Linked DNA regions of Homo sapiens: regions 1, 3 and 4 are each linked to region 2. Evidence: promoter capture Hi-C in human tissues and cell types (Jung and others, 2019). All regions are on one chromosome and are shown on one strand. Each heading gives the region's core, a stretch centred on a gene start or on the middle of the fragment in contact. The rest is flanking DNA. Distances are from core to core; before and after follow the strand shown. Region 1 has its middle 47 kb from the start of CTB-49A3.2. Region 2 holds the start of VDAC1 (voltage dependent anion channel 1). Region 3 has its middle 41 kb from the start of SAR1B. Region 4 overlaps FSTL4 (follistatin like 4).

What was found. Contacts are between HindIII fragments. The study calls those that stand out against the background at their distance.
Region 1: a fragment that was not itself captured here is called in contact with the fragment with the promoter of VDAC1 in region 2 in 1 of the 25 tissues and cell types used here (dorsolateral prefrontal cortex).
Region 3: a contact is called between a fragment that was not itself captured here and the fragment with the promoter of VDAC1 in region 2, in 1 of the 25 tissues and cell types used here (thymus).
Region 4: a fragment that was not itself captured here is called in contact with the fragment with the promoter of VDAC1 in region 2 in 1 of the 25 tissues and cell types used here (aorta).

The regions. Positions count from the first base shown.
Region 1 is chr5:133,159,109-133,163,590 of GRCh38, reverse strand. No RefSeq gene overlaps it. Among named protein-coding and RNA genes, the nearest start is that of CTB-49A3.2, 47 kb to the left of the region's middle. The HindIII fragment of the contact is 5,969 bases long and covers 1-4,403 here.
Region 2 is chr5:134,002,297-134,007,095 of GRCh38, reverse strand. VDAC1 (voltage dependent anion channel 1) reads left to right here and starts at 2,121. Exons shown (of 9, transcript NM_003374.3): 1 at 2,121-2,201. RefSeq lists enhancers at 1,278-1,347, 1,388-1,447, 1,518-1,637, 3,288-3,337, 3,348-3,397 and silencers at 1,808-1,857, 1,898-1,957, 2,018-3,057. The HindIII fragment of the contact is 12,628 bases long and covers 1-4,799 here.
Region 3 is chr5:134,589,212-134,594,320 of GRCh38, reverse strand. No RefSeq gene overlaps it. Among named protein-coding and RNA genes, the nearest start is that of SAR1B, 41 kb to the left of the region's middle. RefSeq lists enhancers at 1,309-1,902, 2,723-2,782. The HindIII fragment of the contact is 7,095 bases long and covers 1-5,109 here.
Region 4 is chr5:133,422,911-133,427,736 of GRCh38, reverse strand. The region is part of intron 3 of FSTL4 (follistatin like 4); the gene reads left to right. It overlaps MIR1289-2 (microRNA 1289-2), which reads left to right and starts at 31; the gene lies at 31-141. RefSeq lists enhancers at 3,586-3,880, 3,971-4,020. The HindIII fragment of the contact is 7,315 bases long and covers 1-4,826 here.

The sequences.
Region 1 (4,482 bases), core at 170-2,669, 840 kb after region 2:
AAACCCTGGAATAAATGCCAAACAGATCAGAGGCCTAAAAGTTAAAAACTGAAACCATACAAGTACTAGAAAAAAACACAGGTGAATATCCAACATCATGATTGGGAGAGAACGTTCCTTCATATAATTTAAAATCTAGAAGCTGTTAAAGTTAAAAAAAAAATCATAAATTCGACTACAACTACAACCAAGTCAAACTTCTATATAGCAAAAAATCAATTGCTCCTATATATTAGCACTAACCAGTTTTATAGTAGGAAAGGAAAGATATCAGTACCATAATGTGCCTTGGCATACACCTGATAAGAAATGTGCAAGAAATAGTATAACTGTAAGACTTAACTGAACAATAATGAAAATGACCCGGAGAGAGAAACCATTTTCGAGAACAGTAAGATTTTTTATAATAACATTTTCAGCTCCCTTCCAATAATCTAAACATTCAATGCAAACACAATCCCAATACCAAAACAAGATTTGCAAGGACTTGCATAAGGTGATTCTAAAATGCACACGAAAATGTAAATATGTGAACGTAGTAAATAACTGTTTTGAAATGAAAAGAGGAGAACTTGCCCTACCAAGTATCAAAACATGTTATGAAACTACAGGTATTAATATTGTTTGGTTTTAGAGTAAGGAGAGATGGACCAAAGAAATGTAATTGAGAGCTCAGAAATGGGTTCATGTGTAGATAGCATCATTTCAAGTCAGTGGGAGAAAACTGGATGTGTTAATAATGGTATTGAGGCAACTGACTCTCTATTTTTGAATAAAATTATGCCCCTACACACTATTCTCAAAATTAAATTCCAGATAGATGAAAGAACCTAAATATTCCAAAAAGTGAAAGCTTTGAAGACAATATAAAGTTTGAGAAAATCTTCTTAAATCACAAACAGGCCAAGTGTAGTGGCTCATACCTGTAATCCCAGTGCTTTGGGAGGCTGTGGCAGGAGGATCTCTTGAGGCCAGGAGTTCAAGACCAGCCTGGGCAATACAGTGAGACCCCCCACCTCTACAGAAAACTTTAAAAATTAGGCAGGGCGTGGTGGCTCGCACCAGCACTTTGGGAGGCCAAGGCAGGTGGATCACCTGAGGTTAGGAGTTCGAGATCAGCCTGACATGGTGGAGTTTGAGACCACCAACATGGTGAAACACTGCCTCTACTAAAAATTCAAAAATTAGCCAGCCATGGTGGCACACACCTGTAATCCCAGCTTCTCAGGAGACTGAGACAGGAGAATCGCTTGAACCCAGGAGGCGGAGGTTACAGTGAGCCAAGATAGTGCCACTGCACTCCAGCCTGGGTGACAGAGCGAGACTCTGTCTCAAAAAAAAAAAAAAAATTAGCTGGTTGTGGTGATGGGTGCCTATAGTCCTACCTCCTCCAGAGGCTGAGATGGAGGGATCGCCTGAGACTAGGATTCAAGTGAGCCATGATCAGGCCACTGCTCTCTAGCCTGTGTAACAGAATGAGACCCTGTCACTAGAAACATACATAATAATCACAAACAGATGTATATAAAGAAAAAATAATAAAGTTGACTAAATCAAAATGTAAAATTTTGGCAAAAAACAACATAAGCAACACAAAAAGTCATGTTACACACTGGAAAATATGTATGTATCATACACATAACTAGGTATCCAGTCTATATGAAGATCTCCCAGGAAAAAAGAGAACCCAACGGGAAAGTGGATAGACAGGCAATTCATTAGAGGAAAAACACCATAGACAATAATGTGAAAGTATGTTCCATGTTCCTTGCCTCTTCCAGCTCCTGGTGGTACTGGTATTTCTTGGCTTGTGGCTGCATCATGCCAACCTCTGCCTCTGTGGCCACATTGCCTTCTCCTCTTCTACTGTGTGGTACCTCCCTCTGCCTCCTTCTCATGAGGATACTTATGATTACACTGGAGGCACACCCAAATAATTCAGGATAATTTCACCTCAATTATATATCTTGCCATATAAAATCCATCCTTTAGGTAATATCCACAGGTTCCAGGAATAATGATGTGGTTATCTTTGGGGTGGTGCATTATTTAACCTAGCACAAACTGGTTCACCCAGTTTTCTAGGTGTAGGGTAAGGTTAATAATAAAAACTATCCAAAAGAGTTATGATAATTGAATTAGTTAATACACTTAGAACAGTGCCTGGCACATAGTAACTGTTGGAGAAATAGTAGCTGCTACTACTAGTAGTAACAGTAGTGAAGAATATTTTAGACAAGACACAAAAATTTCAAACCATTAAAAAATTAATTTTTAAAATTCAACTCCATTAAACTCAAATTATCTGTATAATAAAGAACACTACAAACAAAGAAGTTAAACTTCAGAATGGAAGAAGATATTTGCAACACACCAACAAAAGATTAGTGTCTATAATATATAAAGAATTTCTACAAATCAGTAAGAAAAAGACAACCCTAAAAATGTGGAAAAGATCTAAACAGATAATTCACAGAAAGAAAACCTAAATGGCCAAGAAATATGAAGCAATGTTTAACCTAACTAATAATCAGAAAAGTAAATTTAAAATTGCAGTGAGATACCATTTCACATCTATCATGTTGGCAAATCACGAAAAACTAACTATGAACCAATTATTGGCAGGATGGAAAGCAGTGCTGAGAGTATAAATGGTTAAACTGATTCAGCAATCAGTCCAAGCAGAATGTTCATAAACATTTGTATCACATTTTATCAAACCTAAAGCAACACTGATTACAAGATGCATTGTTATTCTACATACTAAGAATAAAACTTCCAAATACTTGTAAGGTATCATAATAATATCAGAGATGATAAAATGAGGGGGGGAAAGTACATCTCAGACTGTATAAAGTAATAGTGAAAAAATTAGAAATAACCTAAATGTTCGTTCATCACAGAAATGGCTCAGTAAAATGCACTATACATTTGTACTATGAAATTCTTGTAGCAGTTAAAAGAAATTTATCAAAGAAAAGATATTACTAAGTGAAAATAGCAAGATGCAGAATCATATACAGTTAATATTTATGTGCACACACACCCAAGAAATCACACCAAAATTTTTTAAATTACCTTTTATGATAGATGGATTGCATTAAAGCCTCAATTTTTCATATTTCCCTGAATCCATGCCCTCTTGCACTGCCTGCCCATACTAACACTGGGCTTAGCTATGTATTTGCTTTGGCCAATGGAGCAATAGAAAACTTGGCATAAGCAGAAGCTTGAATGAACACTTGGTATTGCCTTATAGTTCTTGTCCCTGAAGAAAGGGAACCTAGGAGTCTTTAAAACATGTCTGACATACCCAGAGCAGCAGTGGTTAAGTCTAAAAAAGAAAGCTCTCAAAAAATTATGGGTGTGGCTTTTGACAAATGGCATTAAATGCAATGAGAAGCCTAGAAAACCCACAATGTTTTTGAGGATGTTCCATTGTCATAAATGCCCCCAGTCTGAGTAGAAATTATTCAAAATGAAAAAAAGGTCTGTGGACAGGAAGAAGGCTGAGAAGGACATTGCTTAAAGGGCACATCTTGTCTTCAGAAGTGGCCAAGGAGGATAATGGAAAAAGGAGGACACCTCAAAGGGTGAAGCCAAGGGCCTTGGAAAATAGTGGATTTGAAAACTTCATAGAAACCAGAAGCCCTCTTTCAAAAAAAAAAAAGAAAAGAAAAGAAAAGAAAGCCACTCTGAGTGAGCAGAATTGGGTGTTAATCAAGGGATATTCACCACCCCTGTGGTAAGGGGTATCTGCAAGTGAAGTTCTTCCCAAAACAGGGGAACCTGACAATGTTTTCCAAGCTGGATTGTAGAATTGCTACCGACAGTGATGCAATGTGCCTCCCACTCTTTTGAGTAGGAGTACCTATTGCAATTTTCCTGTCCCTGTCTTACCACTGTATGTTGGGAGGAGGAGATAAATTATCTTTTTAGTTCATAGGTCCCCAGATCAAGAGAAATTTCATCCAAGGAGCCACAAGCAGAGCTGATATAGATCATGAGATCCTAGGCTTCAAACATAATGATGTGATTGGATAACCTTTTGGGGATCCTAGAATGGGGGTGAGCATATTTTGCATATGGGAGGGATATGGTTAGTTGTGGCCAAAAGTGCACAATGGTAGACTGACTACATTAGTGGCCCCAAAGTTTCACGCCTCCCTCTATCTGTGCCTTTTAGTAGTATCACTGCACACTAACTCTGTACTTAACCATGTGACTTGCTTTGGCCAATGGACAGAGGCAAAATTGACGCAAGAAGGGTCTTCAAAAAGTGCTTGAATGTTTCTTGGACTCACATGATGAGAATATTCCCAGAATACCCTAATGGAAGGATATGAAAGATAACAGCAGGAAAGCAAAGTCATTCCAGTCCAGGCCATCAGACCAACTACACCACAGGCATCCAGCTTGCTGAGCAAGGTCAGCCCAAATCAGTTGAACTACCCATCCAACCTGTAGACTCATGGATAAATG
Region 2 (4,799 bases), core at 872-3,371:
ATTTTTGTATTTTTAGTAGAGACGGGGTTTCTCCATGTTGGTAAGGCTGGTCTCGAACTCCCGACCTCAGGTGATCCAGCCGCCTCAGCCTCCCAAAGTGCTGGGATTACAGGAGTGAGCCACTGCACGGGGCCGAGTGCCTACTCTTTATGTGTCCCATTTTAAACTTACACCAACACTCTGAAGCTGAGGCTCTTAGAGGCCAGCCTTCTTGCCTGGGTCACGCAGCCACTAAGTGAGTGGTTAATCTGAAACTAGCACCTAGGGGAGCTGGCGAAGGGGCCCAGGGTAGCAGAGGCCATGAAGAACTCTTTCCAAGTTGTTGTTTTTTTTTGTTTTTTTTTTTTGGGGGGGGGGGACAATGTCACTCTGTCAGTCAGGCTGGAGTACAGCGGCTCAATCTCAGCTGACTCCAGCCTCCTCCTTCCAAGTTCAAGCGATTCTCGTGCCTCAGCCTCCTGAGTAGCTGGGACTACAGGCGCGCGCCACCACGCCCGTCTAGTTTTTGTATTTTTAGTAGAGACAGGGTTTTGCCATGTTGCCCAGGCTGGTCTCGAAGTCCTGGCCTCAAGTGATCTGCCTGTCTCGGCCTCCCAAAGTACTAGGATTACAGGCTTGAGCCACTGCACCCGGCCCAGATTGGTTCTTTAAAGCGGAGTTGAGAGGTGGCGCTGGAGGGGAGGAAGCCCTTCGACATTTGCTCCCAGCCTCAAAACTGGGTTGCACCGGCATCTGTTCCTAGCCCTGTGGGGTTCCTGGAGCCCCGCCTTGTCCCGCCCGGCCTCCCTGAGTTCTTGTCCTCCCCCTGCCCACCAGTCTCAGTGTGCGGGGTGGGGACCACCAGGCTGGGAAGCCCAGAGTTCCCAGGCAACTCGTGCGCCTGGGAGGGTCATAGAATCCGTCCTACACTCCTCAGGATCTTGAAGGGGGCTCTTCCTTACATTCCCAGTCACCCCTCCCCCAGCCCCTACACAGGGCCTAGGTAACCTGTCTGCACCCCACTCCCACTCTGTATCAGCTGCCCTCTTCCTCAGCACCCTATCCCACTGGAGCACCTTTTCCAACTCCAGTCGCCACTTTTAATCTGCCGCCTTTTCCCAGCAGCCAGTCCTGATTGCCTCCTCCGTAGCCCCAGTTGCCCACTGCTTTAGATAGTGTCGCAGCTGGCTGTGAGGAGTGTCCTGATTCTGTAACCCGGCACCTCCTCCACAGGGCCCTAGACGCCTCAAGCCTTCCAGGACGTTTGTTGATCAAAGGCGAAGGATGTGTAGAATCTTCGTCCATCTACGAATTAATTCTCGAAACCTGCTTCGAGTGGGCCTCGCGCGTAACACAGGGGACACTCAGTGGTGAACGAGACCACTCGCTTAGGCCTAGCAGCGAGGTGACCGTTCACTCAACACACACTAACTGGGTCCCGCAGGACACGCCCCGGCTGGTCGCGGGGGTTACCCGGGGTGCCCTCAGTCGGCCGGCCGGCCATAACCGGCGTGATCTCCTCGCGCCGAGAGACCCAGCAGGGACCTCGCAAAACCCAATCCACGTTTTGTTTTATTTTGTCTTTTTGCCTCTCAAATGCATGGAAATTGGCTGCTAGTAGCTTTGCTACAGGAGAAAATCGCTAATCTGTAGTGCAAAATCGGCGCACAGGGGTTTTCTCTGAGATTGTCTAGACGCCGCGCGGGCGGGTCGGAGGCGCCAGACACATTGTATCCGGAGCGCGGAGCTCGGGAGCAACAGTCGCCGCCTCTACTCTGTATCTGCGCCGCCCCAGGCGCCCAGTGTCCGCGCTGGGCCTGGGACTGCCCTCGGGGGATGGGGCCCACGCGGGCTTTGATGGGGGGCCGGGGGCCACTTTGTCCACCCAGGCGAGGCTTGGGTCCAGCGCCGGCCACATCAACTCCCGGGGGATCTAGCAGCGCGGAGGCCAAGCAGGAGGCCCAGGAGCCCCGCGCGTCTTCCATTAGCGCAGGGACCTCCGGGCCACAGCTCAGAGAATCGGAAGGCCTCCTCCCCCTTCCCGAGCGCTGCCACTGGGGCCGAGGTTTCCAGCAAGAACCCGCGTGTCCCTGCGCACGCACACACGGTGCACACGTCAGTCCGGCGCCTCCCCGTGCCCCGACTCACGCAGGTCCTCCCGCGCGCCCGCAACACGCCCGCAGGCTCCTGTGTCTGCTGCCGGGGCAGCGGGGCCCGGAAGGGTAAGAACGCGGCTCGCTAGCGGGATGGGGACCCTGGCCCGGCCTGGACGCTGTCCCGGGCGGGGCCTGGGGGCGGAGCGCGCCGGGCCGGGCGCGCAGGAGGGGAGGCGGGTCCGCGCCGCCGCCGTCCGCGCCGCCCCGCCCTTGGCCCAGCCGCTCGCTCGGCTCCGCTCCCTGGCTCGGCTCCCTGCCTCCGCGTCGCAGCCCCCGCCGTAGCCGCCTCCGAGCCCGCCGCCACATCCTCTGAGGTAGGCGCAGCGGAAAAGGACCCCGGCTTCCTTGCGCCCTGGACGGCGGGGGCCAGGCCCCTGGGGAGCTGAGAGGGAGGCGCTGAGGGAGGAGCGGGCGAGGGGCCCCGGCAGCCCGGCCGCGGGGAGGGATCGCGAGCGGCCGGCGCGGGCCTGGCTGGTGAGCGGGCGGGCAGAGAAGGCCGCACAGGCGGGTGCCGAACAGGTCTGGGCTGGGGAGCGCGAGGCCGAGGGTCCAGAGACGCCTGCGGCTGGCGGCGAGAGGCGGCCCGGGCTTGCGGGCGGAAGTGCAAGGGCGGCCGCGTGGAGGCCCGGCGGGCCGCGCGTCTAGGTGACCTTCCCCGGCGGCGCCCTCTGGCCCTGGATCCCACCAGCGTGCATCCGGCGGGGACCCGTTCGCCGCCCACGCTCGCCGGACCAGGCCAGCGGGCGGGTGCCGGCCACGCTGCCGCCTCGGGGATGAGCTCACGTGACGACCGTGGCCCCGAGTCCCCAGGCCCACGCGCCCTGGCCGGCCCACGCCCGCAGAAGCTGGCGCCCGGCACCGCCCGCCTGTGCCAGAGCCTTCTAGAGCGGAACGCGCCGGCCGAGAGTCGACTTAGGCGGTAGAGGCCGGAGCTCGGGCCTGGGCTGAAGGTTTGGCCTCGGAAAAGGAGGCCCCACGGGGAAGGATGTGGCCTTCTTGGTCTTAGGAGTGATTACTGGTTCGGTCGTTCATTCATTCGCCAAATGCGGCGGTGCATTCTGGAAACTGTTTCGGAGCCTGACTTTGGATTAGAGGCCCGCAGTCTTAGTGGTTTGTACAAGGTCACACAGCTGGGAAGTCCCCATACCTTCGTTTTCTCATCTATAGGACGGGAGCAATTGTACCTCTCCTTCGATGAGTTTTGGGGAATAATAAAATGAATTAATTAGCATGAAACCTTTAGAACAGTGCCGGTGTGGAGAAGGGCTAAGTAGAAACCCTGACACCCTTGGGGCTTTTTGGGTGAATCCAGCCCATCCCCCGCAGACCATTTTGCTACACGTGGCGTTGTGGAAGGGGTTCAATAAATGTAGCTCCTGTTTTTAAACATTCTTTCACTATTATTGACAAGCATTTGTATACCAGGTATTGAGTAACTTTCAGCTTAATTTATGAAAAATCTTGTAAGTTTACAAATGGACATTGTCAAGCTGGAGCAGTAAGTTTGCATGTGGAGATCTTGAATGCAGGAGCAGACCCTGGTTTAGAGCCCGTTCCGCCCGGGGTCCCTGTCCCCTTGACTAGCCTCCCCTCTCCTGGGGAGATAGGGGAAAGGGCTCCTCTGTTGCCTAAACTTCTCCACTGAGGCAGGAGAAGGCCAGAGCAGACTACCGAGGGCCAGCCTTCATTCTGCCCACCCCAGCTCTGGACCAACTCAGCTCCTAAGGGTCAGACTGAGGCACTGAGGCCCTGTGCTACTTTGTCTTCAGTGCCTGGGGTGGTGCTGCCTGGCACACAGTAGGTGCTTGAGAAGGGTCTGTGGGGGTAAATGCACTCTTGTGTCAGAATCCACCCATCTTTACTGACAGAGTTTTACTATTCCAGTACATGGCCCATAGTAGGTGCTTATTGAGTATTTGTGGAATTATTGAATGGGCATATGAAGGGCTGCAGGCCCAGACCATAGTCCTTTGATCCTGGACTTTTTTTTTTTTTGAGACAGGGTCTTGCTCTGTTGCCAGGTCTGGAGCGCGGTGGCACCATAACGGCTCATGGCAGCTTCTGTTTCCTGGGTTCAGGCAATCCTCCCACCTCAGCCTCACAGAGTATCTGGGATCCCAGGCACACACCACCACGCCTGGCTAATTTTTGTATTTTTAGTAGAGTCGGGGTTTCACCATGTTTGCCAGGCTGATCTCAAACTCCTGGCCTCAAGCAATCCACCCGCCTCCGCCTCCCAAAGTGCTGGGATTACACGCGTGAGCCACCATGCCCGGTCCTGGACATCCTTTTGAGGGACACAGACATCTCACTTGTGGAAAACAGCCTCACCTAGCAGAGAGTCACAAATATTTAAAGAACTGTAACAGTATGTATAGTCTCTTGAAATAAGTGCTTTAAACACATCGTCTTCATTCTCTGGTTTTCCAAGTCCCGAGGGAAACTTGTTGAACTGGTGTTTCTGGGCTTGCAGGGAGGGTGACATGGGTGACTGGGATTCTACAGAAGGTGTTGGGCCTGTTACCCCTTCCCTCATGGTGGGTGGATGGACAGCTTGTGCTGGGGTTGTCCTGAGTAGGGTGCCTGCCTGTGGGTAGTGGGGACTACTCCTTGTTGATTATTTAGTTTTATTTTTGCTATTCTAGAGTGGGGCTATAGGCAGGG
Region 3 (5,109 bases), core at 578-3,077, 590 kb before region 2:
ACAGTGGCTCACACCTGTAATCCCAGCACTCTGGGAGGCTGAGGCGGGTGGATCACTTGAGGTGAGGAGTTCAACACCAGCCTGGCCAACATGGTGAGACCCCGTCTCTACTAAAATACAAAAATTAGCTGGGCATGGTGTCACATGCCTGTAGTCCCAGCTACTTGGGAGGCTGAGGCAGGAGAATGGCTTGAACCTGGGAAGCGGAAGTTGCAGTGAGCTGAGATCACGCCATTGCTCTCCAGCCTGGGTGACAGAGCAAGACTCCGTCTTAAAAAAAAAAAAAAGAAAGAAAAAGAAGAAGGCTGGGTGCAGTGGCTCACACATGTAACCCCAGCACTTTGGGAGGCCAAATTTGGGGGAGCACTTGAAGCCAGAAGTTCAAGACCAGCCTGGGCAACATAGCAAGACTTCATCTCTACCAAAAAAAAAAAAAAAAGCTGGGCATAGTGATGCATACCTGTGGTCCCAGCTACTGAGAAGGCTGAGGCAGGAGGATTACTTGAGCCTGAGAGGTAGAGGCTGCAGTGAGCCATGGTCATGCCAGTTCACTCCAGCCTGGGCAACAAAGCAAGACCCTGTCTCAAAAAAACATAAAGCAAAACAAAAAAACCTCTGACCTGGGACTGTCTTTGCCTGAACAGTGGAGCAGTATGGTGGTTTCATCCATTAAGCAGAAGTGTAATGGATGAAGAAGGGAGAATACCCTGTGTTTTAATCCCCTAGGAAAGTACTGAACTTGAAAAATCAAGTGGGCAGAGTAGCTTAACTGTCATGAAATAGTCCAAAGACTGCCCAGTGAAAGTGAATTGGACTTCATCTATGACTCCAGGACTCAAGAGGACCTGTGAATAGAAATGTCAGGTGTCAAAGAGACATTACAATTGAATTTAAGAGAGACCTTTTTAACACAGCTGTGGGTTGCCTTTCAAATGATGGGCTGTTGTTGGAATTCAAACAGTCTCTCCTAGAGAGGGGAACTCCATGGGATAGTGATTGGATGAAATGAGCTCTCACACTCTCCCCAAACTCAGAGGTCCTACAAACCACATGAGGCTTTTCAGATGAGGGCCATGAAGGAGTTAAAATTGACGGGGCAAGTTAGTGCCAATCCCATGCCCTTTCTTGACTGGATGGAAGTATTCCTGGAGGGGAGAGGAATCCCTAAGATTTACTCTCTTCTTGAGAGTCCCCTCTGATCCCCGATGCCTCTACGGGGGCATGTCTACTTCTCCTGTGACATTGGCTCACTTGAGACTCTTTTTTTTTGGGACAGGGTCTCACTCTGCCACCCAGGCTGGGGTACAGTGGTATGATCACAGCTCACTGCAGCCTCCTGGACTCAGACTATCCTCCCACCTCAGCTTCCTGAGTAGCTGGGACTACAGATGCCCACCACCACACCCAGCTAATTTTGTATCTTTTTGTGGAGATGGGGTTTTGCCAGGTTGCCCAGGCTTCACTTGTGACTCTTACCTGGATGTGGCAGAGATAAGGCCCATCCATCAGACCTCCCTCCCAAGCCTCCTAGGATGCTACTTCAGTAAGGAATGGGCATGAATATTCCAGCTGGCATTTAGGGAGCAATGCTTTGATACCAAGCAACAGGCACTAGAACCAGGCAGGCTCCCAGAGTCCCAAAATAGCAGTTCAGAGTACCCACAGGTGAAAGTTTATTTTGCTGAGTCACTTTTCCTCCTTGGCTTCTACAAACCCTTGGCTGTTCTTCTGAGTTTCATGTTAATCACAACATTCAATCCCTAGCAATGGAATGTTCCTTTTTTGCAAAAGGGGTGAGGTGAGGGCACAGGAGGGATGTCCTATTCAACTACCTCTAGCCTCTCGGGTTACAAGCTTTCAGGTGTGAAGGATGATCACAGAGCTGACAAGGGGCCTGAGTAACCCACAAGGCTGGGGAGCTGTGTGGTTTTTTGGCCCAGGCAGCTGACTGTCAGATATGTGACTGAAGCGGCTTCTCTGACCATCAGCTGTTTGCAACCAGCCCCCATCTAGGGGCTGCACCGGGCCAGTCCCTAGAGTGGAACTGACCCCAGACCACCGTTGGGCTTAGGGAGGCCCGTGAAAACTTGTAAACAAACAGGGTTTACCGGCTCAGAATCCGGGAAGTGAGAGTTGGTAAACAAATCCCTCTGGCCTCCTTGCCTCTGGTCAGTCAGCAAGTCTGTGAGTGCTCTCCTGTACCACTGTGTCCTGCCCTCCTCTAACACCTTTTGTGGCTCCTCATTTTGTCCACTTCATACCCATGTCCTCTTTGAGCCTCTCAGCCACCCTGCATGGTGGGCCCAGCAGGAGCTCTCATCCTTATTAACAAATGAGGAAACTAAGGGCCAGAATGCAGGTCAATAATTTTCCATTACCCCAAGGACAACAAAATTCCATTTCTAGCAGCTTCCTCTTTCGTGGTGGATTCATGGATAAATTCTCTAGACTTGAATGGCCACATGTTGCTTAATGTTCATTGAGAATGGAGGGAAGTGGCCGGGAGCAGTGGCTCATGCCTGTAATCCCAGCACTTTGGGAGGCTGAGGTGGGCGGATCACCTAAAGTCAGGAGTTTGAGAATGGAGGGAAGAATAAGGGGGACCACCCACTAAATACAAACCTCTAGACCCGAGGCAACCCACTTGAGCATTATCCCAAAGACAGAGGCCTCCATCCCTATCAGGGAGGCCTAGGCCCCCTTCCAAGCCTGAGGAGGGATGCCTCCTCTTCTCTTCCAGTGCCTCTAGGCCCTGCTCCATGCTTCACCGTGTCACTATCCCAGCCCGACCTGGCATCTCACCCCATGACCACGCCCATGACTAATCCTGTGCTCCTAATGGCACACTCACCTGGTGACAGATGAGTCAGCCGCCACAATGGTGTTCTGATGGTGCAAAGGTGACAAGCTGAGTGGATAAAGCTTCTTCCTTCTCTCCTCTGCCCAAGTTGTGTATGGAGGCTCACCCAGCCCCATCTGCCAGCTAGCCCCACCTCACCCAGCTGGCCTCAAGTTAAAGGGCCCTGGTGAGATAGGAGAATAGGGAATTAGGGTCACCAAGGATCAAGGCATAAGCAAAAGAACAGCAGGTGCAGCCACTTCTAGGCAAGATTAGGCAGCATACAGGCCACATCCTCACTCCTGTGATAACAAGACAGAAATTTCCACTTCAGCCTCTGATTGACCACGGGCCAAGTATCCACTTCAGCCTCTGATTAGTTGCTGGCCAATCTGTCATAGGGTATAACCAACTGGAGGCCTTTAAAGGGTACCTAGGAGTGTTACCAAATTCTTTTTTTGTTTTTGAGACAGAATCTTGTCCTATCACCCAGGCTGGATTGCAGTGGCTTGATCTCCACTCACTGCAAACTCTGCCTCCTGGGTTCAAGCAATCCTCCCATCTCAGCCTCCAGAGTAACTGGGACCACAGGCACACCACCATGCTCAACTAATTTTTTCTTTCTTTCTTTCTCTCTCTCTTTTTTTTTTTTTTAGTAGAGACTGGGTTTTACCATGTTGGCCAGGCTGGTCTCGAACTCCTGGCCTCAAGTGATCCACCCGCCTGGGTCTCCCAAAGTGCTGGGATTACAGGCGTGAGCTCTAATCCACCAGCCACCAAATTCTTTTAGTTTAATAAGAACCCTAAAGAACATTGCAATGGGGCTCTGGAGCTGCTTGCTCGAGCCTGCTCCCACTCTGTGGAGTGTACTTCCACTTCAGTAAATCACCTTCATTGCTTCTTTCGTTGCTTTGTTCTTTTGTTTCTTTGTGTGTTTTGTTCAATTCTTCGTTCAGTGCGTAAGAACCTGGACAACTCACAGTCAAGACCTTCCATCCGGTAACACTGGAAAGCTTTCCCTTGCCCTCTGACCACAGCCCCTCCCCACAGGAGATGGACTTCAGAGGTCACAGATATCCCCCAACCTCTTCTCCCATTGTACAGATGCAGAAGTATCTCCCAAGTAGCTGGGTCCATCAAGTCAGTGGCAGAGAGAAGACTTCTCGCTCCTGGGTCAGCCGTAATTTCCTAGAGCAGTGTGCAAAAAGCCTTTTAGGGAAGGGAGGTGATTATAATTTCAAAAGAGCTTTGAGTTTGAGTTTGAGTTGGGGGACTTAGGGGAGTCACGGATGGTGCTCTAGGAAAAGCAGAGGCCCAACATGAACTCTTTTTAAAAAAAAACTGTTTTAAAATGGTTTCTTCTGATGGCCGGGCACGGTGGCTCACGCCTGTAATCCCAGCACTTTGGGAGGCTGAGGCAGGCGGATCACTTGAGGCCAGAGTTTGAGACCAGCCTGGCCAATGTGGCGAAACCCTGTCTCTACTAAAAATACAAAAATTAGCTCGTTGTGAGTGCCATAATGCCAGCTACTTGAGGGGCTGAGGCACAAGAATTGCTTGAACCCAGGAGGTGGAGGTTACAGTGAGCCAAGATCGTGCCACTGCACTCTAGCCTGGGTGACAGAGTGAAACTATCTTAAAAAAAAAAATTCCCCAGAAGTAAAATAAAATGGTTTCTTTTGCTTTACATTATGTTTGTTGCAACAAAGCAGTTGGGTGGTATTACATGTAGCAGGTTTTTTTTTTTTTCTACAGTATCATTTTTTTCTTAAACTGCAGCAAAACAAACAAACAAAAACCCCAAAAACACAAAATTCACTCTCCCGGGCTAGGTACGTGTAATCCAGCACTTTGAGATTCCTCGAGCTCAGAGGTTTGAGACCAGCTTGAGCAACTTGGCGAGACCCTGGCTCTACTAGAGAAAACAAAACAAAACAAAACACAACAAAAACAGCTGGTCATGATAGTGTGTGCCTGTGGTCCTAGCTATTCGGGAGGCTGAGGTGGGAGGAGCACTTGAGCCTGGGGGCATGCAGAGGTTGCAGCAAACCAAGATCGTGCCACTGTACTCCAGCCTGGGTGACAGAGTGAGACCCTGTCTCAAAAATAAAAAAATAAATTCACCCTCCCAACAATTTCCAAGTGTAAAGTACAATATTGTCAACCACATGCCATTGATGGGCAGCAGAGCCCTGGAACCACCCTCCCGTCCTGACTCTGTGCCTCCTAATCAATTCTCTTCCTCCTCCCCCCAGCCCCTGGCAACTACC
Region 4 (4,826 bases), core at 633-3,132, 580 kb after region 2:
CTAAGACCACAGCTTTGTAACCTAACTCAGCCACGGTCCTAGTTAAAAAGGCACATTCCTAGACCCTGCCTCAGAACTACTGAACAGAGTCACTGGGTGTGGAGTCCAGGAATCTGCATTTTTACCCCTATCGCCCCCGCCATTCCCGCCCTTCCCCCCGCCATTGCGTGCACTAATTGCTGGAAGCACTCATGAGGAGAGCCGCCTGTGTTGTGTAGAACTCCCACCCCCGCAACACACACTCACTCACCCTTTCACTTACCAACAGTTTCCTGGGCTTGGGAGGTCTGGAGAAGGCAGTAGCCCTGCAAATTGAGAAAGGCAAGCCTCGGAAGTGGACTCTTATATCTCTACTGCCAAAAGGGGCTACATCCTCTCAGGCCCCTGGGTTCATTCCTTGAGAACAGGGCTCAGCTGTGGGAGCTGATAAAACAAGGCACCCTTCCAGTTACTGAGCACCTTCTGGTGGCCCACACTGTGCTGGGCATTGCACATGAGCCGTCTCTCGTCCTTGGGGAAGATAGTAGTTGTTATCCATGCTCTATAGGTGTGGAAACTGAGGCCCAGAGAGGTTATGTGGCTGGTCCAAGGTCACACAGCTGAAGTGAGATTGTAACCCAGGGCTGCCTGACTCCAGAGCCTGTGTGTTCTCCAGTGGTGACATTGCTGGGGTAGTCTTGGGGGGCAGTGTGAGCTAGTTCATAGGATGGAAGAGTACTGTGAGGAATGTTGGGGTATTTCAAGGTTTGATAAACCAAAATTCCTCTGGGCCGTTGGGCATTTGAGAGACGGAACACTGAGAACATAAGACATGCTGAGATTTAGGTTGTTTTAGAACCTGAAATCTCAGCTTACTCCTCCCAGAACTTGTGCTGACTTTCGGAAAAAGGAAACATTTTAGCCTGGTTTGGGTTCTGGATTGCAGTAGCAGTGGTGTTTGCTAAACTAAAGAAGGGAACTGGAGCTTCTATCAGTGCATTATTAAAGCAGAACTGGCTGACTGTCTCCCTGGGAAATAACAGGACTGAGGCTTGTGCCTCCAGCCAGAGATTGCTCCTCCATAGCCCCCATTGCCACCGCTTCTACTACTTTTGCCTCCACTCCCCAGCCACCCAGTGATCCACCCTGCCAGAATGCACAATGCCGGCATTGATCATTCCCCAACCCACGGTACAGTTCAGTTTCCTCTGCTGCTAATTGGCCATGAGAGCTCCGTTATGAGGGATCAGAATTGTTAGTCTCTTCCTAATGATCTCTGTCTGGAGACCAACTTCATGACATTCTCCAATTAGGGAGTGCGGAGGGGGCAGGGCAGCGCTATTCATCTGCCCAGAACCCCCATGAAGTGACATGGGCTCATTATGCAGGAGACCCAAGCCACTGGTCCTGCGGGTCAGCACAGCCCAGGAGAGCCACGGAGGCAGGTCTCCCCCTCTCACCTCCCCAGACTCCCGGCTATCCTTTGCTCCCTGTGTCCTCCCTTCATGGCAAAGACTTTCCTTTGGTCAGGCTTGAAGGACAACACTCTGTCTTCTGCTAGCACACTCTGTGCTTTAAAAATTCCTAACTGGGAAAGATGACTTCTTTTGAGATCAAAGGCACACTCTCAGGGATGTTGGGGCAATGAGGAAGGTGAAAGCTACAGAGGAAGTCAAGACTGGTCCACTTCCAGCTCCCCATATGTGGAAGAAGAGAAGACCAAGGCCAAGAGAGAAGGGTCTTGCTCAGGGGGGGTCCCCAGCACTTAGACAGGAAGACTAGAGCCCCCCACGTCATTCCTGCTTCCCTTCTCCTCACCCTAACTTCAAATGCAGGCTCTTTATCCTATGTCCCTGTTCTCCCTTTGGACCCAGCCAGCTTCTGGATTTCTTCCGCCACTTGGCTTATCGTGCAGTGGACAAACCACACGGCTACACTTGACAGCCAGAAACTGGATCATAAGCTTTGAGGGCAGGATCCATATCTCCCTTATTCTCTGCTGTGTCCCAGGACCTAGCATCTCACCCACAGTAGGAACACAGAATTATTCAATGAGTGAATTAATTAATTAATGCTTTAACTTTAAAGTTCAAATGTAGAGTTTCAGAGAGGAACCCAGAAGGGCTATTCAAAGAAATGAATATCCAACAGTGGAAATTCAGATATTACAGAGTCTTGGGAGGTCAGTTGGGCATTAATTCTTTCCTCACAAGAGTCTGCTAATTACTTTTCCAGGTTTTCTGCTGAACAATTTGAACTCACATTCGACATAGCTTTCCCTTTTGTCTCTTTCTTAATATCTCAGCACAACTCCTGCTGTGGGGCATTGTTAAACCTCAGGCCTGGAGGGTTTGGCGATGCGCGGTTAACAGCTTTGCCACCTGGGGATGGCATTATCTCTGCCAGCCTCTAGCTGACTTGCTCTGGGTCTCCTGCTGGGAGACAAGACCAGGCTGGGACAGGCCATTCAAACAGCTTGAGAGCAGCTCTTAAGACAAACCTCGGACTTAGCTAAGGTACCTTTTTTTTTAGGTCACTTTGAAGAAATCTTAATGTTAAAAAGATTTACAAACTAAAAACTTTATAATAAAGTGTTGTCAAAAATCTGTAACAAAATCTACATCAAGTCCTTATGGTGTCTGGAACATAATAAATGTGCAATACATGTGAGCCCGTAGATCTTTTCTATCAATACTCACTTGAAATAGATTAATCCACAGTCTAATAGTTAGACCCAGTCTGATGCGCATAAGAAATGTTGCTATATCTTTTGTTTTGTTTTTACAGATTTTCTTTTGATTAGGTTATCTATTTGATGGGAAGGGAGGAAAGGCCTAGCATTTTCTGCACCCACTGTGCACCAGGAACCATGCTAAGTGCCTTACATTTCACTATGGCATGTGCTTCTCTCTATGGGCTTCAGGGAAAGGCTTATTCTCCCATTTTCCAGATGGGAGAATTAGACTCAAGATCTCAAGATCGTTAGACTCCAAAGCCAGTACTCTCTCCTTTACGTGGTATTTAGAAGTGAGCCCAGCTATGGGAATGCTGCCTAGTGACCACATGGTCACTGCCAGCTTCCCTGTCCAGACCAGCCTTCCCTTGGCCTGAGATGTGCCATAGTGCCTCTCAGAGGACACCATCACGTATTCCTGTAGTGCTTGAGTGTCACCAACCTGGAGACGCCGTGGGACAGCACAACCAGGGAAGTCGTAGAGAACCCAGGTGCCCCTGGACATTCTAAAGACCATCATCTGAGAGACTGCTCGGAAATGCAAAGCTCACAAAACATGTCATTTCCTGTCTCTAAGGTATTGAATACAAATATCATCTCCTTTTATCTCCCATCTCCAAAACAGTCCCCTCGGGTTGTGTCTCTCTCAAGTGCTCTGTAAACTTCCCAAATTGTCAGCCGGTCCCAGGAGATGCTTCCATCACACTGGGTGATCATCTCATGATAACTTCCGAACTGGCCTCCTGCACTGTTCACGGGTCTGGGTGGTTACCCGCGCAGCAGAATCACTCAGCAAACGCTTGGATGTGCACTGACTTTGAACGGCTAGAAAGTTCAGGGGCACCACCTGCCTCGGAGCTGCTGCATGACTCGGGTCTGAGGTGTCCCCTGAAATCTTGGGGACAGGCACTTCTTCTGCTGGCGTCAGACAGAATGTGGTCTCCCCACAGGGAGCCCAGTCCGATTCTGCAGAGCCCGGCTCGGCCCTGCTGGTCTGCGGGTGCCCTTTGCCCTCGTGCACACAGCGACACCTGGTGGTAAGCTGGTGAACCGCCGGGACCCCAGCGCTGTTCCTCAGCTCCATGCTGGGCTCCAGCTCACGTGCGCTGTGTGCACCGAGGGACTTGTCCTGGCACGTGCACACCCAGTCTTGTGCACCACCGAGTACTCCGTTGTGACAAAGTTATACTCAGTTATGTATGTCTTCTTCCTGCTCTGTGCAGAGAGCAGTCCCGTGGCCTCAGTCATGAGTCATTTGTCTGTACTCATTCTCAGAGGGGAAGAAAATGAGCTGTTTCTAACTACGTCTATCGTCACCACCCCGATCGCCATCCTTACTGCCATCAACCACCACCATCCCTGCCGTCACCACTACCATTGCCTCCACCACCGTTAGCCATCACCACCGCCTCACCGCCATCATCCCCACCACCCCTCGATGACCACAGCCACCTTTGTGCCTTTACTACTGTCACCCCATGCACTCTGTCGCTCCTGTAGCAGGGGCTAACTCCTCACATAGCAGCAGAATTGGGCAGCCCTGCCCGCTGAGGTTCCAGGAGGGAGGCTGAGGGCCTCTTCCACAGAGAGTGCTGTGAAAGGCTCTTGGAAGGAGGGCAGGAAGGACCCAAGAGAGCAAGGCAGAGGGAGGATGGGCCTTCTCCAGCTCCTAGCTGGCAGACAGGACAGCACGAGGTACCGCCTGGATGCATTTAGGACTGAAGTTTCTGCTGATGTCAACGAATGCTGGAAATGTCCCAAGACCCCAGTTCAGGACTGCGCCTCATCCAGGTGAGCAGTGCAGAGCAGTCAAAAGGGGCCAGGAAACAAGCCGCCCATTCATTCGTGCAGTCCAAGAACAAAGCCAGCGGGCCAGCTCCAACCTGTTGTGACAGAAATACCAGGGGATCTTTTCTTTTTCTTTCCATTTCCCCCAGGCAGCAACTGTACAAATGAAACTTCAAAACTAGAGCTCGGCCGTTCAGAGCCTGCACAGCACTGACCTGTTTCTTGTTCATTTAGCCTCATTCTCTCAGAAGACAGAAAGCCTCATTCATCAGAACAATCACTTCAGCCCAGAGGGGCTTGGGTGTTGTTTCTAAGACATTACAAC